Linked DNA regions of Homo sapiens: regions 2, 3, 4, 5, 6 and 7 are each linked to region 1. The links are contacts of gene promoters, found by promoter capture Hi-C in blood cells and fetal thymus (Javierre and others, 2016). All regions are on one chromosome and are shown on one strand. Each heading gives the region's core, a stretch centred on a gene start or on the middle of the fragment in contact. The rest is flanking DNA. Distances are from core to core; before and after follow the strand shown. Region 1 holds the start of CMIP (c-Maf inducing protein). Region 2 overlaps PLCG2 (phospholipase C gamma 2). Region 3 overlaps PLCG2 (phospholipase C gamma 2). Region 4 overlaps CMC2 (C-X9-C motif containing 2). Region 5 overlaps PLCG2 (phospholipase C gamma 2). Region 6 overlaps CENPN (centromere protein N). Region 7 holds the start of ATMIN (ATM interactor).

The links. Contacts are between HindIII fragments. The CHiCAGO score rates a contact against its expected background, and 5 or more counts as called.
Region 2: a fragment that was not itself captured here is called in contact with the fragment with the promoter of CMIP in region 1 in 1 of 17 cell types (total B cells); the score reaches 7.0 in total B cells.
Region 3: a fragment that was not itself captured here is called in contact with the fragment with the promoter of CMIP in region 1 in 3 of 17 cell types (neutrophils, total B cells and naive B cells); the score reaches 8.5 in neutrophils.
Region 4: a fragment that was not itself captured here is called in contact with the fragment with the promoter of CMIP in region 1 in 1 of 17 cell types (neutrophils); the score reaches 5.5 in neutrophils.
Region 5: a contact is called between a fragment that was not itself captured here and the fragment with the promoter of CMIP in region 1, in 8 of 17 cell types (neutrophils, naive B cells, total B cells and 5 more). The highest score is 18.5, in neutrophils.
Region 6: a fragment that was not itself captured here is called in contact with the fragment with the promoter of CMIP in region 1 in 1 of 17 cell types (neutrophils); the score reaches 5.5 in neutrophils.
Region 7: a contact is called between the fragment with the promoter of ATMIN here and the fragment with the promoter of CMIP in region 1, in 2 of 17 cell types (naive CD8 T cells and naive CD4 T cells). The highest score is 9.1, in naive CD8 T cells.

The regions. Positions count from the first base shown.
Region 1 is chr16:81,443,532-81,446,065 of GRCh38, reverse strand. CMIP (c-Maf inducing protein) reads right to left here and starts at 1,258. Exons shown (of 21, transcript NM_198390.3): 1 at 525-1,258. The coding sequence starts at 824. RefSeq lists silencers at 266-565, 996-1,045, 1,116-1,465, 1,576-1,675 and an enhancer at 1,885-2,417. The HindIII fragment of the contact is 9,361 bases long and covers 1-2,534 here.
Region 2 is chr16:81,953,221-81,955,754 of GRCh38, reverse strand. All of the region lies in intron 31 of PLCG2 (phospholipase C gamma 2), which reads right to left. Among named protein-coding and RNA genes, the nearest start is that of SDR42E1, 57 kb to the left of the region's middle. The HindIII fragment of the contact is 1,832 bases long and covers 347-2,178 here.
Region 3 is chr16:81,901,504-81,904,037 of GRCh38, reverse strand. The region is part of intron 14 of PLCG2 (phospholipase C gamma 2); the gene reads right to left. Among named protein-coding and RNA genes, the nearest start is that of SDR42E1, 110 kb to the left of the region's middle. The HindIII fragment of the contact is 6,358 bases long and covers 1-2,534 here.
Region 4 is chr16:80,997,378-80,999,911 of GRCh38, reverse strand. It overlaps CMC2 (C-X9-C motif containing 2), which reads left to right. Exons shown (of 4, transcript NM_020188.5): 2 at 2,483-2,534. The coding sequence starts at 2,518. Among named protein-coding and RNA genes, the nearest start is that of CMC2, 8.2 kb to the left of the region's middle. RefSeq lists an enhancer at 552-1,118. The HindIII fragment of the contact is 2,109 bases long and covers 221-2,329 here.
Region 5 is chr16:81,882,246-81,884,779 of GRCh38, reverse strand. It overlaps PLCG2 (phospholipase C gamma 2), which reads right to left. Exons shown (of 33, transcript NM_002661.5): 9 at 1,439-1,511. Among named protein-coding and RNA genes, the nearest start is that of PLCG2, 100 kb to the right of the region's middle. The HindIII fragment of the contact is 5,892 bases long and covers 1-2,534 here.
Region 6 is chr16:81,017,735-81,020,268 of GRCh38, reverse strand. CENPN (centromere protein N) reads right to left here. Exons shown (of 11, transcript NM_001100624.3): 5 at 2,435-2,511; 6 at 1-169. It also overlaps a transcript of CENPN-AS1 not described here. Among named protein-coding and RNA genes, the nearest start is that of CENPN, 12 kb to the right of the region's middle. The HindIII fragment of the contact is 3,405 bases long and covers 1-2,534 here.
Region 7 is chr16:81,034,573-81,037,106 of GRCh38, reverse strand. ATMIN (ATM interactor) reads right to left here and starts at 1,265. Exons shown (of 4, transcript NM_015251.3): 1 at 901-1,265. The coding sequence starts at 1,236. It overlaps CENPN-AS1 (CENPN antisense RNA 1), which reads left to right. Exons shown (of 4, transcript XR_007065134.1): 1 at 1-370; 2 at 2,181-2,352. RefSeq lists silencers at 596-945, 1,156-1,445. The HindIII fragment of the contact is 2,725 bases long and covers 15-2,534 here.

The DNA.
Region 1 (2,534 bases), core at 9-2,508:
AGAGAATAAAGGACGGGTAAACCAAACAGAGAAACTGGCTTCTGGAAATTCTTTGGGTTTGGGGGTTTGGAGGTTTTGTTGTGTTGTTTGTTTTTTTTTTTAAATCTGAGGGGTGGTATTTTGTTTTCCCCTCCCCCACCCCTCAGATCCAGATGGGCCAGGGGCTTCCAGAGAGAACCCCCACCACCATCAGGGCCCAGCGTCGGGTCCATCCTCGAGTCCCAGCCACCAGAAACACAAGAGCTGGGGGCAGAAGGTCCCCAGGCACCCAGCCTGGCGGTGGGCCGAGTCTCCAGCATTTTAAGGGTCTCTCCTGAGCCCGGTCGGCTGGTTTGGGCTTCAGACTCCAAAATCGAGCCCCGCGAGCAGGCCAGGAGCGAGGCGCCCTGGTTCTCCCCGTTCCCCCGGCACCCCCCACCGCCCCCCAGGCCCTGGGCTCCAGGTGCAGCGCCAGGGGGCAGCCAGGGAGGGCGCATCTCGGGCCCCGAGGAGAGGCGGGGGTGCAGCCGCGCAGAGCCACTCACCGTGGCGGACGCCAGGCTGTTGTCGGCCAGCGTTAGGTGGTGCGGCTCCCAGCGCCTCAGGAATTTCGAGGTGAGGATCTTGCTGAGAAAGGTCCGCGGGTGCCGGATGACACAGACCTGAATGTCGCCCTCCTGCAGCAGTTTGTACCTCATCCCGTTGCAAAGCAGAAGAGCCCGGCGGCAGGGCACGGCGCCCATCTTCGTGCCTTCGGGGGCCGACACGTCGCCCCCCAGCAGCGGCTTGGTCTCCTCGATCTGCCGGGGGTCGCCGCCGCCGCCCGAGCTGCTGGTCACATCCATGGCCGCGCCGGGGGAGGGGGCTGGGGGCGGGGAGAGGGGGCTGTCCTGGGCTGCTGGGGCGGCGGGGCCCCCGGATCCGGCGGCCCGCACCCCCCCACCCCCCGGGAAGGTGGGGGGGTGTGGGGCTGGGGGCGCCCGCAGGGGAGGGGGCGCTGCCCGCGGGGGGCGGCGCGTGCGGCGGGCTGGGCCGGCCTCGGCGCTTCCTGCGGGGCTCCGGGCTTCCTCCTAGCTCGTCGGGTGCATGCTCGCGGCGGCTGACCGGGCTCGGCGGGCGACGGGGAGGGGCGGGGGAGGCCGAGGGCGGGCCGGGGCCAGGCGCGGAGGGCGGGCGCCGGGGTGGGGGCGGCGGGGTGGGGGCGGGCGTGTCTCGGGGCCCCGCGCCGCCGCGCGCGTGTGTACAGAGCGTGTGTCCGCGCGGCCGTCCGGGCGAGAGTGGCCGCGGGCGGGGCGGGCCGCGCGCCGGGCTCCCGGAGCCCGGGGCGCCCGCGCGATTGGTCCCCGCAGGGTCATGTGCCCGCCCCTCTGACGTCAATGGCGGCAACGGCGGCGGCCGCGGCGGCTTCGGCCTCTCGCGGGCGGAGTCCGCGGTCCGGGCGGGGTCGCGGCCCACGACGGGGAGGCGCGGCCCGACGGGAGGGGCAGCCCCTGGGGAGGGGGCTGGGGCGGGCGAGCCCCGCGGGGTCCCGGCCCGCCCCGCCTGGAATGTGGGGAGGGGGCGGGGCGCGGGGGCGGGGCGCGTGACGTCACGCCAGCCGCGCCCCCGCGGGTGCCCGGGCGGGAGCCCAGCCAGGCTGCCGGAGCCTGGGGGCCCGCGCCTCACCCACCCCCGCCGCCCCCGGGCCGGACTCGGACGGGTAAAGAAGGATACCCGAGGGCCGGGGGCTGGGTGGAAGGACGGGGACTGGAACCCTCGACCCCTGACGCCCCCTCCGCTGTCCAGGCTGTCCAGCGGGCTGGCCAGATGGGGCCGTGGGACGGGGACGCCTTCCCGACTGAAAGTGTCCCCGCGGTGATCCGGAGGATGAGCCCACCCTGCCCTGTCTCCCACTGCGGGACCCAGCCGGCCTCGAACTCCTGGCCTTTGACGTCTGCTGGCTTTGGCCTTGGGGGTCCTCAAACCTTCTGGAGAGAGGGGACGGTCCGCCCATCCCCCTTCTTTCTTCTGCCCAGGGAGACAGAGCCTCTTCTAGGAACCCACTTAAAGCACCCCCCAACCTACACAGCCACCCCTCTTGTGCGCACCCCAGCAGCTCCCCCTACTTCACCTTCCCTGGGACCCCACCTGGTCATTTTATCTGAGTTCACAGGCCCAGCACCAGCCCACGAGAGAACCATATTCGATTCTCTTGTGACCCAGGGTATCAGGAACTGCAGCCTGGATGCAAAAAGCTCCCTTTCTGCCATCACAAGCAGCCGGCACCTAAGGCCACCTAGCAAATGCTCAGCTCCTCAGCCAGGTTTTCTTATCTCCACGTGCTCCTGCAGCTAATAACGTTAAAACCCTAGATTTTTGCCTTTTTAAGTGAAGGCGCCTCTGTAGTGAACACATGAATGTGTGCAGCGTGTGTTGAACTGCGTCGTGAACACTGCGGAATATCCACAGCATCTGTGCCGTTGGTGGAAATTATTCACCCCCCCTCTCCCAAGAACAGGCAGCATGAAGGTGCTCCCCAGAGGACCCTCTCCCCGAGCCTGGCCAGGGTTTCAGGC
Region 2 (2,534 bases), core at 13-2,512, 510 kb before region 1:
ATCCGTGGGACTTTCGTTGGTGCTCTTGGTAGAGTTTCTTTTCTTGGGATCAGCTGAAAGAGTAAGTGTGGTCCTGTCATGGCCACGTTGCTATTGAGTCAAGAAGTTTGGAATGTGCCAGAAAAAGAGGAAAACAGCCACTGAGTGAGCACAGAGATTCAGCCATGACTGAAACAAGACCTACCCCTAAACTTTTCAGTTGCAGGAACCAAAATAGTCCATTACGCTAGGGGAGAAAAAAAGACAAAAGCCACTCAGGGTAGGGAGTTTGGGTTTCAATGCAGGGGGAGGATGAGGATGTTTTGCCTCATCTGTTTCAGAGGATCCCTGACTACTCTGTGAAGCTTGGCTTTGCAGGAGGGTCAAGTCAATTGGCCTTTCCCGATGGAGTTCAAGTGAAAGACTCCTGTGCTACAAAAACATCTGTTGAGGTGCACAAACAAGATCCTTTGTCATTTACTTTTAGAAAAACACGGACTCAGACCATACTCTGCAAGGTTTTTTCCTCCTTTAATGACCTAACAAAACAGTCCCCAGGGTAACAGCTGGAACTGTGACTTTGGAGAAGGGGGACAGAAGATGATTATTCCAGCTGTTTGCAAAGGTTGAAGAGTAAGCAGAGGTAAAATGGGCTGTCCTTGGTGATTAAGTGAATGTATCAAGTGAGGCATTGGGAAGAGTCAGTAATGACTTCACTTAGTAATGACTTTCCTCCCTATTAAGAATAAAGCATATTAAAAAGTCAGGAAACAATAGATGCTGGCGAGGCTGTGGAGAAATAGGAACACTTTTACACTGTCGGTGGGAATGAAAATTAGTTCAACCATTGTGGAAGACAGTATGGTGGTTCCTCAAGGATCTAGAACCAGCAATACCATTTGACCCAGCAATCCCATTACTGGGTATGTACCCAAAGGAATATAAATCATTCTACTATAAAGACCCACGCACATGTAAGTTTACTGCAGCACCATGTACAACAGCAAAGACATGGAACCAACCCAAATGCCCATCAGTGATAGACTAGATAAAGAAAATGTGGTACATATACACCATGGAATACTATGCAGCCACAAAAATGAATGAAGTAATGTCCTTTGCAGGGACATGGATGAAGCTGGAAGCCATCATCCTCAGCCAGCAAACTAACACAGGAATGGAAAACCAAATACCATATGTTCTCACTCATAAGTGGGAGTTGAACAATGAGGACACAGGGAGGGCAACAACACACACCATGGCTAGTTGGCGGATGGGGAATGCATGTGGGACTTAAAACCTAGATGACAGGTTGACGAGTACAGCAAACCACCATGGCACACGTATACCTATGTAACAAACCTACACGTCCTGCACTTGTATCCTGGAACTTAAAGTAAAATTTTACAGAATAAAGTTCAGAGAAAAGGAAAAAGAAAAGAAAAGAATCAAGTCGCCGGGCGCAGTGCCTCAGGCATGTAATCCCCAGCACTTTGGGAGGCTGAGGTGGGAGGATTGCTTGACCAGGAGTTCAAGACCAGCCTGGGCAACATAGCGGGACCCTGTTACTATAAAAAATGAAAGAAATTAGCCAGGCATGGTGGCATACCCTGTACTCCCAGCTATTCAGGAGGCTGAGAGGGTAAGATCACATGAGCCCAGGAGGTTAAGGCTGCAGTGAGCCACGATCATGCCACTGTACTCCAGCCTGGGCAAGACAATGAGACCCTGTCTCAAAAAATAAAGCAAAATGAAAACCCCATTTAAGTCTTAATACTATACCATGAAAGGTCTCTCTTTCCCTTTTCTGCACCTAGAAGAAAATGGCTTCTGTTGTTTTATTCTATATAATGGGTATTTGTTATTCGGGCGCAAGTTCAAAATTCACCTTTTCTATGAATGCTTCTATAACTGCAACCCTTTATCACCTTTCCTGAGTGCCAAAATATTTGCAGCTATATTACATACTGTAGTCCTGGGTACACTGTATATATATGAGATATAATGCACATTCAGAAAAGAACGTAAAAGATAGAAACAGTTTAGTGAATAACTCTACAGCAAATGAACCAGCCCTCTTGACTTGAGGAACCACCACTCTAGTCAAGAGAAAGCATTTTGTGATACTTATTTCCTGGATTTCTTTTGAGTCTGAGTTTTCACTTAAAAATTTAGTTTGTTTTATTAGAAAATGAAGCTTTTGGTAATAAGTTTTACCTGGCCTGAGACAAAATCTTTATGGCACTCTCTGCCTTTAGTTTTTCTCCTGTTTGTTGGGGGGAAAAATACACAAAAAAATAAAGTTTTTCCCCCACCAATACCTTTTAAATTGTTTTATGTTGGAAGCTTAAGCTTACAAAAAAGGTACAGTAATAGTACAATGTTCTCACATACCCCAACCACCTAGACTCCACAGTGTTAACATCTCGCACAACCACAGTACAAGTATCAAAACTAAGAAATTAATATCGGTGCAATACTAAAACTACAGATCTTATTCATATTTCACTGGGTTTTCCACCAGTCTCCTTTTCCTGTTCCCACATCCAATCCGG
Region 3 (2,534 bases), core at 25-2,524, 460 kb before region 1:
CTGTAAAGTGGGCAAGGGCTGAGGTTATTCGTCCTGCAGTGTCTTGACAAGACTGAATAAGAAGATACATATGACCACGCCTAGCCAAGTGCATGGTACAAAGTGACCGTGTGGCCAACGCTATTTCCACCTCATTTCTTGAAATAGAAAGAAGTGGGCCACAGCGTATCAGGTGTGGGGCAGAGGGTGCTCTAAAAGGGGCCTTCAGTACTTTGCATCTTAGAACAAGAGCTGAAAACTCCCTGGGAACAGGCAGCAAGCCATCCTAATGGAAACAGAAGGAATGAGCTGGGAACAGGGAAGAGCACATGCAACCAGGCTGCCCCGAAGACTCACCAACTAGGTGCCTGAGAAGCCATGGACCCTCCATGGCCGAGCTCCCTCCACCCCTTATCCTGCCTTCACCGTGCTGGAAGCATCCCTTGGCATCTCCGAAACAACTGCCTGGGTGCAAACAGTGCTGCAGCTATTTTGTTAACTTGTGACCCCAGCCAGGTGGCTGCACTTCTCCAGGCCTCACACTTCTCATCTGCAAGACTAAGACAATGACAGCTGATCTCCCGCTTAGGCAAACATCTGTACCTTAAGGGTCACAGTCTTGGCCAAACACTCCCCGTGCACTGATGCTCTTACCCATGGGGGCACCAACATCCCCTCCTCTGGTTGTGCTTGGCCAAAGCTCCTTGCACTGTTTGGTGTTTCTCTGTTGACGGGTTTGTCTCCCTACCAAACCACGACTTCCTGGAACATAAGGATTGTGTCCAATGTATCTTGGTGGCCCAGTGATAATATAGGGTACATGCCACGTGTTGACACCACCACACCCTTGTGTGTCCTATTGTCCCAACCTGGAAGGACATCCCCCTTCTCTGCCTACTGCTATGGTCTGAATGTCTGTGTCCTCCCAAAATTTATATGTTGAAACCTAATCCCCAATGTAATGGTATTTGGAGATGGTAGCTTTGGAAGGTAATATGGTTTGGCTGTGTCCCCACCCAAATCTCACCTTGAATTGCAGCTCCTATAATTCCCACGTGTCATAGGAGGAACCCAGTGGGAGGTAATTGAATCATGGGGGCGGGCCTTTCACGTGCTGTTCTTGTGATAGTGAACACATCTCATGAGATCTGGTTTTATAAATGGGAGTTTCCCTGAACAAGCTCTCTTGCCTGCCACCATGTAAGATGTGACTTTGCTCCTCCTTTGCCTTCTGACATGATTGTGAGGCCTCCCCAGCCATATGGAACTGTGAGTCCATTAAACCTCTTTCCTTTATAAATTACCCAGTCTTGGGTATGTCTTTATGAGCAGTGTGAGAATGGGTAACACAGAAGGTGATTAGGTCATGAGGGTAGAGTCCTCATGAACGGGAATGAGGGTAGAGCTTTTATGAATGGGAATGAGGGTAGAGCTCTCATAAGTGGGAATGAGAGTAGAGCTCCAGTGAATGGGAATGAGGGTAGAGCTCTCAACAATGGGAATGGTGCCCTTATAAAAGAGGCCAAAGATATCTCCATGTCCCAGATGGTTATTTATAAATAAATAAATATTTAAAAATAAAAGAGGTCCCAGAGAGCTGCCTCACCCTTTCCACCATGTGAGGACACAACTAGAAGTCGGCAGCCTACAACTTGGAAGAGGACTCTCATACCAGCACCCTGACCTTGAACTTCCAGCCTCCAGAACCGTGAGAAATCAGTTCCTGTTGTTTATAACCCACCCAGCTTAGGGTATTTTGTGATAGCTGCAGGAACAGACTGAAATACCTAGGAAACAGCTGTTTGTCCTTCCCCATGAGCTCGTGGAATGTCAACAAAATTCACACTCGCTCCTTCCATGAAAGGCTGCCCCGCTAGGGACTTCAGATTCCACAGTCCTTGCAGGTAACGTGACTAAGCTCTCATGCACAGAACAGTAGAGAAAAGGACGGGACAGCTGACTTGCTTACCAGAAACCATTTGCCCTGGACACCCTTGGACTTCCCGTGCTCTGAGCTGGAACTCGGATGTGCCTGAGACCAAGCGTCCACCACATAAACAAGGACAAAGCAAAGTCCCTTCACCGTTTTTGTGTAATGAGCTCCTTCAAAATCTGGGGAAAGCTACAGACCCTTTTCTCAGAATAATAATGCATAAAATTACAAAGGAAACTCAATTATATTGAAACATGATTAAGATATTAAATAAATATTTGCAATACACTAAAAGATGGGTTTCTTCATTAACATCTTAAATAAGATCTAGAGGCAGACCTAATAACCTCCATAATTCCAAAGTGATGACGAGCACAACATTATTTTGAAATATTTGCAATAACTGTAAACGGGATATGAAAACACTCATGACTTCTGCTGGTGACAGAGCCCGCAAGTGGCTTGCTGCCAATGTTCACAATGGAAGGAAGTATTAAGTTTTATGTACAGGTTAAACAAATAAAGATGTAATTTTTTTTCTGTTGAAGTTCACGTGCCCCTCTGATTCTAACCGTGGATTCTTCGGGGGTCTGTGAAACCCCAGTTGAAAACTGCTGCCCTG
Region 4 (2,534 bases), core at 26-2,525, 450 kb after region 1:
TAATCTATCTAGAGTTAATTTTTGTATATGATGAAAGGTAGGGGTCCACTTTTATTCTTCTGCATATAGCTAGCCAACTATCCCAGCACCATTTATTGAATGGGAAGTCCTTTTGCCATTGCTTATTTTTGTTGACTTTGTCAAAGATCAAAAGTGTGTGGCTTTATTTCTGGGCTGTTATGTTCCATTGGTCCATGTGTGTGTTTTTGTAGGAGAAGCTTGCTGATTTGGTTATTGTAGCCTTATAGTCTGAAGTAGGGTAATGTGATACGTTTGGTTTTTGTTCTTTTTGCTTAGGATTCTTTTGGCTATTTGAGCCCCTTTTTGGTTCCATATGAATTTTTGGATAGTTTTTTCTAATTGTGTGAAAAAATGCCATTGGTAGTTTGATAGGAGTAGTGTTGAATATGTAGATTGCTTTGGGCAATATGGCCATTTCAGTGATATTGATTCTCCCAATCCATGAGCACGGAATGTTTTTCTATTTGTTTGTGTCATCTGTGATTTCTTTCAGCAGTGTTTTGTAGTTCTTCCTGTAGAGATCTTTTACCTCCTTGGTTGGATGTATTCCTGGGTATTTTATTTTTTTGGTGGCAATTGAAAATGGGATTGTATTCTTGATTTGGCTTTCAGGTTGAACCTTATAGTGTATAGACGTGCTACTGATTTTTCTATGTTGATCTTGTATCCTGAAACTACTCAAGTCATTTGGCAGAGTCTTTAGGGTTTTCTGGGTATAGAATCATATCGTCAGTGAAGAGAGACAGTTTGACTTCTTTTCTTATTCGGATGCCTTTTATTTCTCTTGACTGATTGCTTTGGCTAGGAAATAAGTACTGTGTTGAATAGGAGTGGTGAGAGCGGGCATCCTGTTCCCTTGTTCCGGTCCTCAAGGGAAATGCTTCCATCTTTTGCCTGTTCAGTATGATGTTGGCTGTGAGTTTGTCATAGATGGCTCTTATTTTGAGGTATGTTCTTCAGTGCCTAGTTTGTTGAGGGTTTTTATCATGAAGGGATGTTGGATTTTATCAAAGGCTTTTTCGCATCTATTGAGATAATCACATGGTTTTTGTGTTTAATTCTGTTTGTGTGGAGAATCACATTTATTGATTTGCGTATGTTGAACCCTATATATATGTTTTTTGACTGGCTTATTTCATTCAGAATGTCCTCACATTTCATCCATGTTGTAGCATATGCCAGAATTTCCTTCCATTTTAAGGCTGAATAGTATTCCATTGTATGTATATACCACATTGTGCTGATCCATTGTCTGTTGGACTCTTGGGTTGCTTCCATGTTTTAATTATTGTGAATAATATGCCGTGAACATGGGTGTTCAAATATCTCTTCAAAACCCTGCATTTAATTCTTATGAAAATATAGCCGGAAGTGGAATTGTTGGATCATATGGTAATTTCATTTTTAATTTTTTGAGGAACTGCTATACCAGTTTCCACAGTGGCTATCCCAGTTTACATGCCCGCCCACAGTGCGCAGGAGTTTCAGTTTCTCCACATCCTCTTTAGCGTTTGTTATTTTCTGTTTTTTTTTCAGCAGTAGCCATCCTAATGGATATGGGTTGGTTCCTGTTTTCTATTTGGAACTTTAAAAAAAATTAAAGCAGGTAATCGGTTCTTTCTTTTGGTAATCATTTCTGAGTTAGAGTAGGTTAAGCCCAGGTGGGGCACGGTAGCTCATGCCTGTCCCAACACTTTGGGAGGCTGAGGATCACTTGAGGACAGGAGTTTGAAACCAGCCTGGGCAACATAGCAAGACCCCTGACTACAAAAAAAAAAAAAAAAAAAGAACAGCTGCCCATGATGTTTTTCCTTTGACCTTGGCTGCTAATTTTCCACCTTGTGGATGATCCAATTAAACTTAAGTTCAGGGATTTCAGCTTCATGTTTTCAGTGTAATAATTAGTTTTATGGCTATATCTGTTAAATTTGAAATTTTTTTTCACAACTTCTGGTTTCATTTCATTGTTTAGTTTTTTTTTCAGCCAGCTATTAAGAAAAAAGCAATCTATATTCACACTAATATGAGACTAATGACCCTTTAACCCTCAGAATAATATACATTTTAAAATAATAAGCCAATTCTCTTAATTGGTAGAATTTCATCTGAACAAAATGAGTTGTTAATTTCGAGAATGTGGCGAAAATATTTGAAGTCAGGCTTATTAATATAAGCAAGCTGTTTCTGCTTTAGTGCTTATTTCCGGGATTGGGTCTCTTGAGGCTTCCTGCTTTTCTCCTGAACCTGTAGGTTCTCTAAATACTACTGATAACTTGCTGAATATCTTAAATCATTGAATTAGAAAGCTTTGTCTCAAGTTTAATAATTTGCCTGAGGTCACACAGCTGGTTAATGGTTAACATACTTCTCTGATAAAGGTCACTAGAGGTTCTTATGAAGATACTTTTAGGTGGCGTAACAAATGTGTTTATGCATATTCAAGACACTCTTGTATCCACAGGTTGCACTGCTGTGATCCATCCTCATCTCCTAAAGATGCATCCTGACTTATC
Region 5 (2,534 bases), core at 24-2,523, 440 kb before region 1:
TTAAGTAAATGAACTTATTTTTGCTGCAACCCTAAAACTACTCTAAAATATAAACTCTATTTAAAAAAAAACAAATGAAGTAAAAGAAAAAAGTAAATGGAACTCCAATGATATAAACAAAAATTTGAGATTTATATGTGAAAAGACATGCATACATGTACACACACACACACACACAGATCCATACAATTGACTCTGATCCCCACAATTCTCAGAGGTAGATGCTCTCAATCCCACTTAAAGAGGGGGAAACTGGGGCACAAAAAGGGTAAACCACCTGTCGGTGGCTGTGCAGCTGGTAAGATGATTTCAAGTTGATCTCACTCTCACAGAGTTTCTTGTCCTCAGCACTGTAGGTACTTGGTGCTGAATACTTCTTTGACTTTTTTTTTTTTGGTGGGGTGGGGGTGTTTTTGTTTTTTGTTTTCTGAGACGGAGTCTTGCTCTGTTGCCCAGGCTGCAGTCCAGTGGCGCAATCTCGGCTCACTGCAACCTCTACCTCCCAGGTTCAAGCCATTCTCCTGCCTCAGCCTCCCAGGTAGCTGGGATTACAGGCACCCACCACAATGCCTGCCTAATTTTTGTATTTTTAGTAGAGATGGGGTTTCACCATGTTGGCCAGGTAGGTCTCGAACTCCTGGCTTCAAGTGATCCGCCCGCCTCGGCCTCCCAAAGTGCTGGGATTATAGGCGTGAGCCACCCTACCCGGCCCTGAATACTTCTTCGCTGGGGGGTAGGGGGGGCTGCCCTGTGCAATGTAGGATATTTAGGAACATCCCTGGTGTTGACCTGCTAGATGCCGGCAGCAGCCTCCCGCTGTGACACGCACCCATGTCGTCTCTGGACACTGCCCAGTGTCCTCTGGGGGCATCGTCACAGCAGTGGAAAACCAAGGCGCAACACAACCCCCCCTTGAGTCTATAGCTGGGCTCAGAGCCCACAGGCAAACCCTGTCCAGGGAGACTGTCCCAGGCATCACCTGTTTAAGGAAAGCTGTGCTAGTTTATCTCCCAGGGGACCTGGCAGGCTTGATGAATCTGATCCCATCCTCCCATCAGTCAAGGAAGGCTTCCCAGGCAGTGACACCTGAGATGATGGCCAGAAAAGGTGCACCCAGCCAGGTGAGGGCAGCCCCATCCTCAGGCCCTCACCCCTCCTGCCCTGCCATCTTCTCAGTCTTCTCATCCTCAATGTGTGCCTTCAAAAGAGGCCCGACATGAGGCTCTTCTCATCCAGAGTTTCAGTGGCATCAGACAGCAATCTGAAGTCTCTGGCATCTGGCAGACTGCAATCGTTCCATGAAGACAGGTGGCCAGGTGAGCACAGGTGGCCAGGTGAGCACAGGTGACCAGGTGAGCACAGGCGGCAGAAGGGTGAGACTAGTCCCCAGCAGCATCCCGCCAGCTCCCTCAGGCACCCACACACCTTGTGCTCTCACCTGCTGTTCATGTATGAGAAACCTCTGGAAGTCATGCAGGTAAACAGCAGAGGCATCCGGCCTGTCAGTGTTCCTATCCTCGGGGAAAGGGGGTGCAGTTAGAGACAGACACATTCAACAGAGGAGTCGAGAGGAGATGCCAGCCAATGGGGCAGCCTGCCACCCAGAACGCCCCACTTAGTCTGGCACTGTGTTAGGTACCAGGTTGGCCAACAGGAAGACACAGGTGAGTGACACAATGTCCCTCACCTACAAGGATTCAGAGGGACCCTGACATCGGAATCTCAAGGGGCAGGCCCTGGTGTCTACATTTAGCTGCTCCAAAATAGCTCTGGTGCACCCCAGAGTCTGAGGAGCCCCTCCAGGAGTGTGGCCATGGGGAAGACAGGTGAACCAGGCATATGGGATACAGTGTAGCAAGAGATGAGGGTGGGAAGGGAGGGGAAGAGTGGGAATGGCTGAGAAGGCCCCAAACCCAGACCTGGAGGACCAGAGGGGCTTTCCTGAGGAAAAGGCACCTACTTGAGCTCCAGAGAGTGAGGTGGGATGAGCCAGAACGAGGTGGGGTGAGCCAGAATGAGGTGGGGTGAGCAAGAATGAGGTGGGGTGAGCAAGAAGGAGGTGCAGAGAGTACCTGGCAAGGAAACCAGAGAAGCAGCGGCCTCGAGGAAAAAAGAGAAGGGAGGGGAGGAAAGAAAGAGGAGTAGGAGCGAGGGAACGCAGGCCAGAGGGAGGGATTGCAGAGCAAAAGGTGTGGGGAACACAGGGATGTGAGTGTGCCTATCCAATACCCAGACAGGGCTCGACACACCACCCGCCCGTAGAGGGAGAGCTGGTGTTGGAGAAAGGACAGGAGCCAGACCCAAGGGCCTCCTCAGAAGCCACGATCCAGAGTTCCCTGGGTCATTGAGTGCTCTGGAGTGGGAGCCACATGAGGCCCCACCAGACTCCAGGCCATCAGGGCAAAATTAACTGCAGTGTGAAAGACACTTCCCTGGACCAAGCAGAGGTTAGGTATCAGGTAGGGAACACTAGGGAACACTACACTCCGAATAAAGGCAGGACTCCCGCCTTGGCCAGCAGGCCACCAGAAAAA
Region 6 (2,534 bases), core at 12-2,511, 430 kb after region 1:
GAAGCGGTGTATTGCGCCTCAGCATGGAGGAGGACGTGAAGGCGTACGGAGTCTGGGAGTAGTACACCACGTAGGTAGGTTTGTACTGGTTTGGCTTTGTGTACTGTGTTCCCCAGGCAATTCGAATCCAGACTGCATTCTCCTCAGTTTCTCTGAAGCTGACTGTCACCTTATTAAAGAAAAAAAAAAAAGGCTTAATTTCCTAATTAAAATTTCACTGTGGCACCAACTCCAGGTGCTTATTAGGGGTGAACAATGATGTCCCTATACTCTTGTATGCAGGTTGAGACCTGGCAGTCTTTTCTGCTTTTCATGAGTATTTTGAGAATCTTTGGGAAAACATTTTGTGATTTTAAAAAAAAAAAATCCTTTTCAGTTCTTTTTTTTTTTTTGAGACTAGGTCTTGCTCAGTTGCTCAGGCTGGAGTGCTGTGGCATGATCATAGCCTGCTCACGGCAGCCTCAACTTCCTGGGCTCAAGCAATCCCATCTCAGCCTCCCTAGTAGCTGAGACCACAGGCACGTGCCATCATGCCTGGCTAATTTTTTTAAAAAAGTTTTTTTTTGTAGAGGTGATTGTTTTTTCAATAATTTCTTGGGCTTGTCCTGAAAACTGTTCCTCCTTACGTAAGAATTTATGAGGTAAGGCAGCCTTACAAATGAGATACTTGTTTTATAATGAAGCCTTCTTAGCATCTAACCCAGACCTAGCACACGCTATAAACTTTAACAGTAAGATTTCTATGTAATTAGGCTGGGTGTTGTGGCTTATGCCTGTAATCCTAGCACTTTGGGAGGCTGAGGTAGGAGGATCGCTTGAGCCCAGGAGTTTTGAGACCAACCTGGACAACATAGTGAAACTCAGTATCTACCGGAAAAAAAAAAAAAAGCCAGGCACGGTGACATGTGCCTATAGTCCCAGCTACTCAAGAGGCTGAGGTGGGAGGATGGCTTGAGCCTGGGAGGTCTAGACTATAGTGAGCCGAGATCATGTCAGTGCATTCCAGCCTGGGCAACAGAGTGAGACCACGTTTCCAAAAAAAAACAAAAACAAAACAAAAAGAAGAAGAAAAAGAAGATTTCTATGTCATAATGGGCTTAAAGAAGATTTCTATGTAATAATGGGCTTGAAAATATACTATTCCTAATGCTCTTATGCATTTAGCTCAGAAGCTAAAAACTCCTCTAAAAGAATGTTACATGGCAAGACCAGAGGTACTACCTTGAATCCACTTCATGGATAAAATACAGGCCTTTCCAAACTTTTAAATATGGTTGCCAATTGGTCTGGAATTTAATAGGCTGCTCCTGGATTATCAGCTCCCCTCTGATTCAGCTTCCCTTTAAAGCTCTGAGCCTAGAAAGGAGGGACTTGAGTGAGATGCACTCAGCTTGCCCACGTCTCTGTTTCCTCCCTCTGAGATCTTGTTCTAGGAAAAGTGGGTTGTTACAGTGGCACTAGCAAATTCTGCTCATTCTTTAGCAGCTTTTCCAAATTCCCTCAGTGCAGGAGACAAGAAAGTCTCCCCAGTCCAGGGTATGGCGGCACACAGCTGTCTGACTTTCCTGAGTGAGCATCATAGAGCTTGGACCCAGTCACATGCTCAGTGGGCCTCTACTGCCTTGAATGGAAGATTGTCTTATTCTGAATAGCTTCTTTGTTTTACATTAAAAAAGCAAAAACATCTGTAAAATCAAGGGTGCTTCAGGTTTGCACTGACTATTACTGGAACTACTAGCTACATGTGGCTATTTAATGTAAAAAATCATTGAAGTTTAAAAAGATTAAAAATTCAGGCTGGGTGCGGTGGCTCACACCTGTAATCCCAGCACTTTGGGAGGCCGAGGCAGGCAGATCATCTGAGGTTAGGAGTTCGAGACCAGCCTGGTCAACATGGAGAAACCCCATCACTACTAAAAATACAAAAATTAGCTGGGCATGGTGGTGCGTGCTTGTAGTCCCAGCTACTCGGGAGGCAGAGGCAGAAGAATTGCTTGAACCCAGGAGGCAGTTGCAGTGAGCCGAGATCTCGCCACTGCACTCCAGCCTGGGCAACAGAGTAAGACTCTGTCTCAAGGAAAGAAAAAAAAAAAAAGATTAAAAATTCAGCTGCTCAGTCACACTAGCCGCAAGTGCTCAGCAGCTACATGTGGCTGAACTGAACAGTGCCAATACAGAGCATTTCCATCACTGCAGAAAGCTCTGTTGGACTGAGCTCCTCTGGAAAAAGAAGCCTCAGGCCCTGAATGGACAGGAGAGAGGAAAGGGAAGTTTTCATAATATTTACAGTGTGTTTCTGATATGGAGTAGAACCGTATGAACTATTACTAACTGAATTTCTTACAAATTAAAAAAAAACTATGATAGTAGCAAATTTTAAGTGCACAGACGTCATGACATTGAATTTTATGTAAAAGATGAATTTTATTCTTACATTTTTTAATGCTCTCTGAAGAATTTTCTTGAACGAATTTTTAAATTGTTTCATATCAAAAAGGTCAACATCTTCACCTGCCAAAGTGAAAAAAAAATAA
Region 7 (2,534 bases), core at 16-2,515, 410 kb after region 1:
ATTTTTAATAAGCTTGTCACAGATGTGTCCCAAGGTTGAAAATGACTGCCCTGTTTTGCATAACGTGGAGGGTTGTTGAGACTATTGTCATGGTGTATTTACTGTGTCCCCCTCTTAAAGAAGAGCCACAGGGGCAATTTCCCTTAGGTCTCAGTCCTGAGCTGATCTTACCAACACCGTGAAACTGACTGATGGTGTTTAGAGGCAAACCTACCGCTCCTTTAAAACATTTTTTTATTCATAATCGACACACAGTAATTATTCCTACTGATGGGGTGCGGTGTGCAGCATGGATGGACATATACATTGCATAGTGATCAAGTCAGAGTGTTTAACATGTCCTCGACCTCAAACGTATTGTCTCTTGGTGGTGAGAACATTTAAAACCCTCTCTTCTAGTTATTGTGGCACATACAGTCCACTGGGCAGGACCCAAGGGCGGCATTGTGGGTGTCGTGGCAAGCACAGGGCTTTAGAACCAGAGGCCCCGGTTTAAAGCCCCGCATCATCTAGGTTGCATAATCTGTTTCTCATTAATATAATGGAGACGATGCGTCCCTCGCCAAAACGCCGTTAAGAACTCACAGGCAAAAAAGTGTAAAAAGCCTGGGCCGGCGTCCGGCACGACACTCGGGGCCAGGGAGCCAGGGAACCAGGGAACTGGCGCGTACGGCGGACCCGGGGCTCCCAGCTCCTCCTCCCCCCCAGAGGCCGCACCTGCGGCGCCTGCCGCGAGGGTTCGAGAGCCGCCTCCGGCCGGGGAGGGCAGAGGCCGGTGGGGCAGCGGCAGCGGCAGCGCGCAGGGCGCTCGTCCCCCCGAGGCCGGCTTCGCGCGCCGGCGCCGGGCGCTTTGTTGGAGCCAGGCCCGGCCCCCCGGGCCGCCGGCCGCGTCGGGCTCACCTGCAGGCGGTGGCTCTTGACTAGGTGCATGTTGAGCGCGGGGCTGTTGGGCAGGATCTTGCCGCAGCCGCGCACGGTGCACAGGATGTTGGTCCGCACGGCCCGGGACAGCTCGCTCACCGACGGCTGGATCAGCTCCCCCGCCGGCGGCGCGGGGACAGCGGGCTGCTGCGTCGCCCCCGCGGGCCGCGGCCGGCTGCCCCTCAGTCGGGGTCCCGGGGGCACCCACGGGCCCGAGGCGGCGGCGGCGGCTCCTGTCGTGGCCGCCGGGACGGCCCGGGCACCCGCCGCCAGAGCCGCGGACCCCGCCGCCGCCGCCGCCTCCGAGGCCGCCATGGCTCCCGCACGGCCGCCCGGCCCAGTTCGTAGGCCCCGCCCCCGCCGCAGCCACTTCCGGCAGGGGGCGAGGCCGCCAGGCTTGTTAGCATCCGGCGGGCCCAGGCGGCCGCGGCGCCCCCTGCCGGCCGCGGAGGGCGCGCCTTGGAGGGAGAGGACTTTAGGTGACGCCGCCAGGAGGCGAAATTTCACCTGCCAGCAGGTAAAAGGTATTGCCCCGCCTCTCTAATCGATCCATTCTTCCTAGGAAAGTGACTTCAGGCAGTAGTCACATAAAAGAAAAAGCAATACGTTGAGCAATGCGTTTACTTCCCAAAGATTAGAAACAACCCAAATGTCTAGTGGCAGGTGAGGCAGAAGTACACTGATTTCCGCCGTTGTTTATTACCTAGGCCTTACTGGGTACCAGGTGGGTCTGGTGGATGCACTTTTCATGCTGTGTCTCATTTTGTCTTCAAAACGACTGTAGCGGGTATGTACTGTAACTTGCCCCACCTTGTGCAGAGAAGGACATTTAGGCTTATATAAATTAAGTAACTTGACCTAGACCACACTATACAAATGAAAAGATTGTTATTATTGATAGGATTAATCATTTTAAGAAGGCTGGATTTGCTTGCTTCTATTTTAGCTGCTGAAATTAGGATTACTGTTTGGGAGACACTGCAGTTCAGTATACGATTACAAAACTTAATACTTAGACTGGGTAGTTCATGTAAATGGACATAGGAGGCTGGGGTAGACAAAAGGGAGGGGTGAGGACTGCAGTGAAATTGGAAACACATCCTTTATTAAAAGGGGGCAGCTGCTACTCATCTTTGGTATGGCTAGAGTTTTATGTGAAAATTTCCACCTTTTACATACTAGCAGCTATATTCGTTTTCTCTTGCTATTAATAAATTACCACAAACTTACTGCCTTAACACAAATTTATTATCTTCCAGCTCTGGAGGTCAAAAGAAATGAGACTGCTGGGCTAAGATCAAGGTGTCAGCAGGGCTGTATTCCTTCCCAAGGCTCCAGGGGAGAATCTGTTCACTTGCCTTTCCCAGCTTCTAGAGGTTGCCTACATTCCTTGGCTTGCGGACCCTTCCTCCATCTCCAGAATCAGTAACGGTGAGTTGAGTCTTCGTCACATCACATCACTCTGATTTCTTCAGTAGTGATCCCTCTGATTCTTCTATTCTTGAGGCCCCCTGTGATGACATTGGGCCCATTCAAATCATCCAGGATAATTTCTCCAACTGCCAAGTCCCTTTGCCTTGCAAGATAACTGTGATAATGTGAAGTATATATTT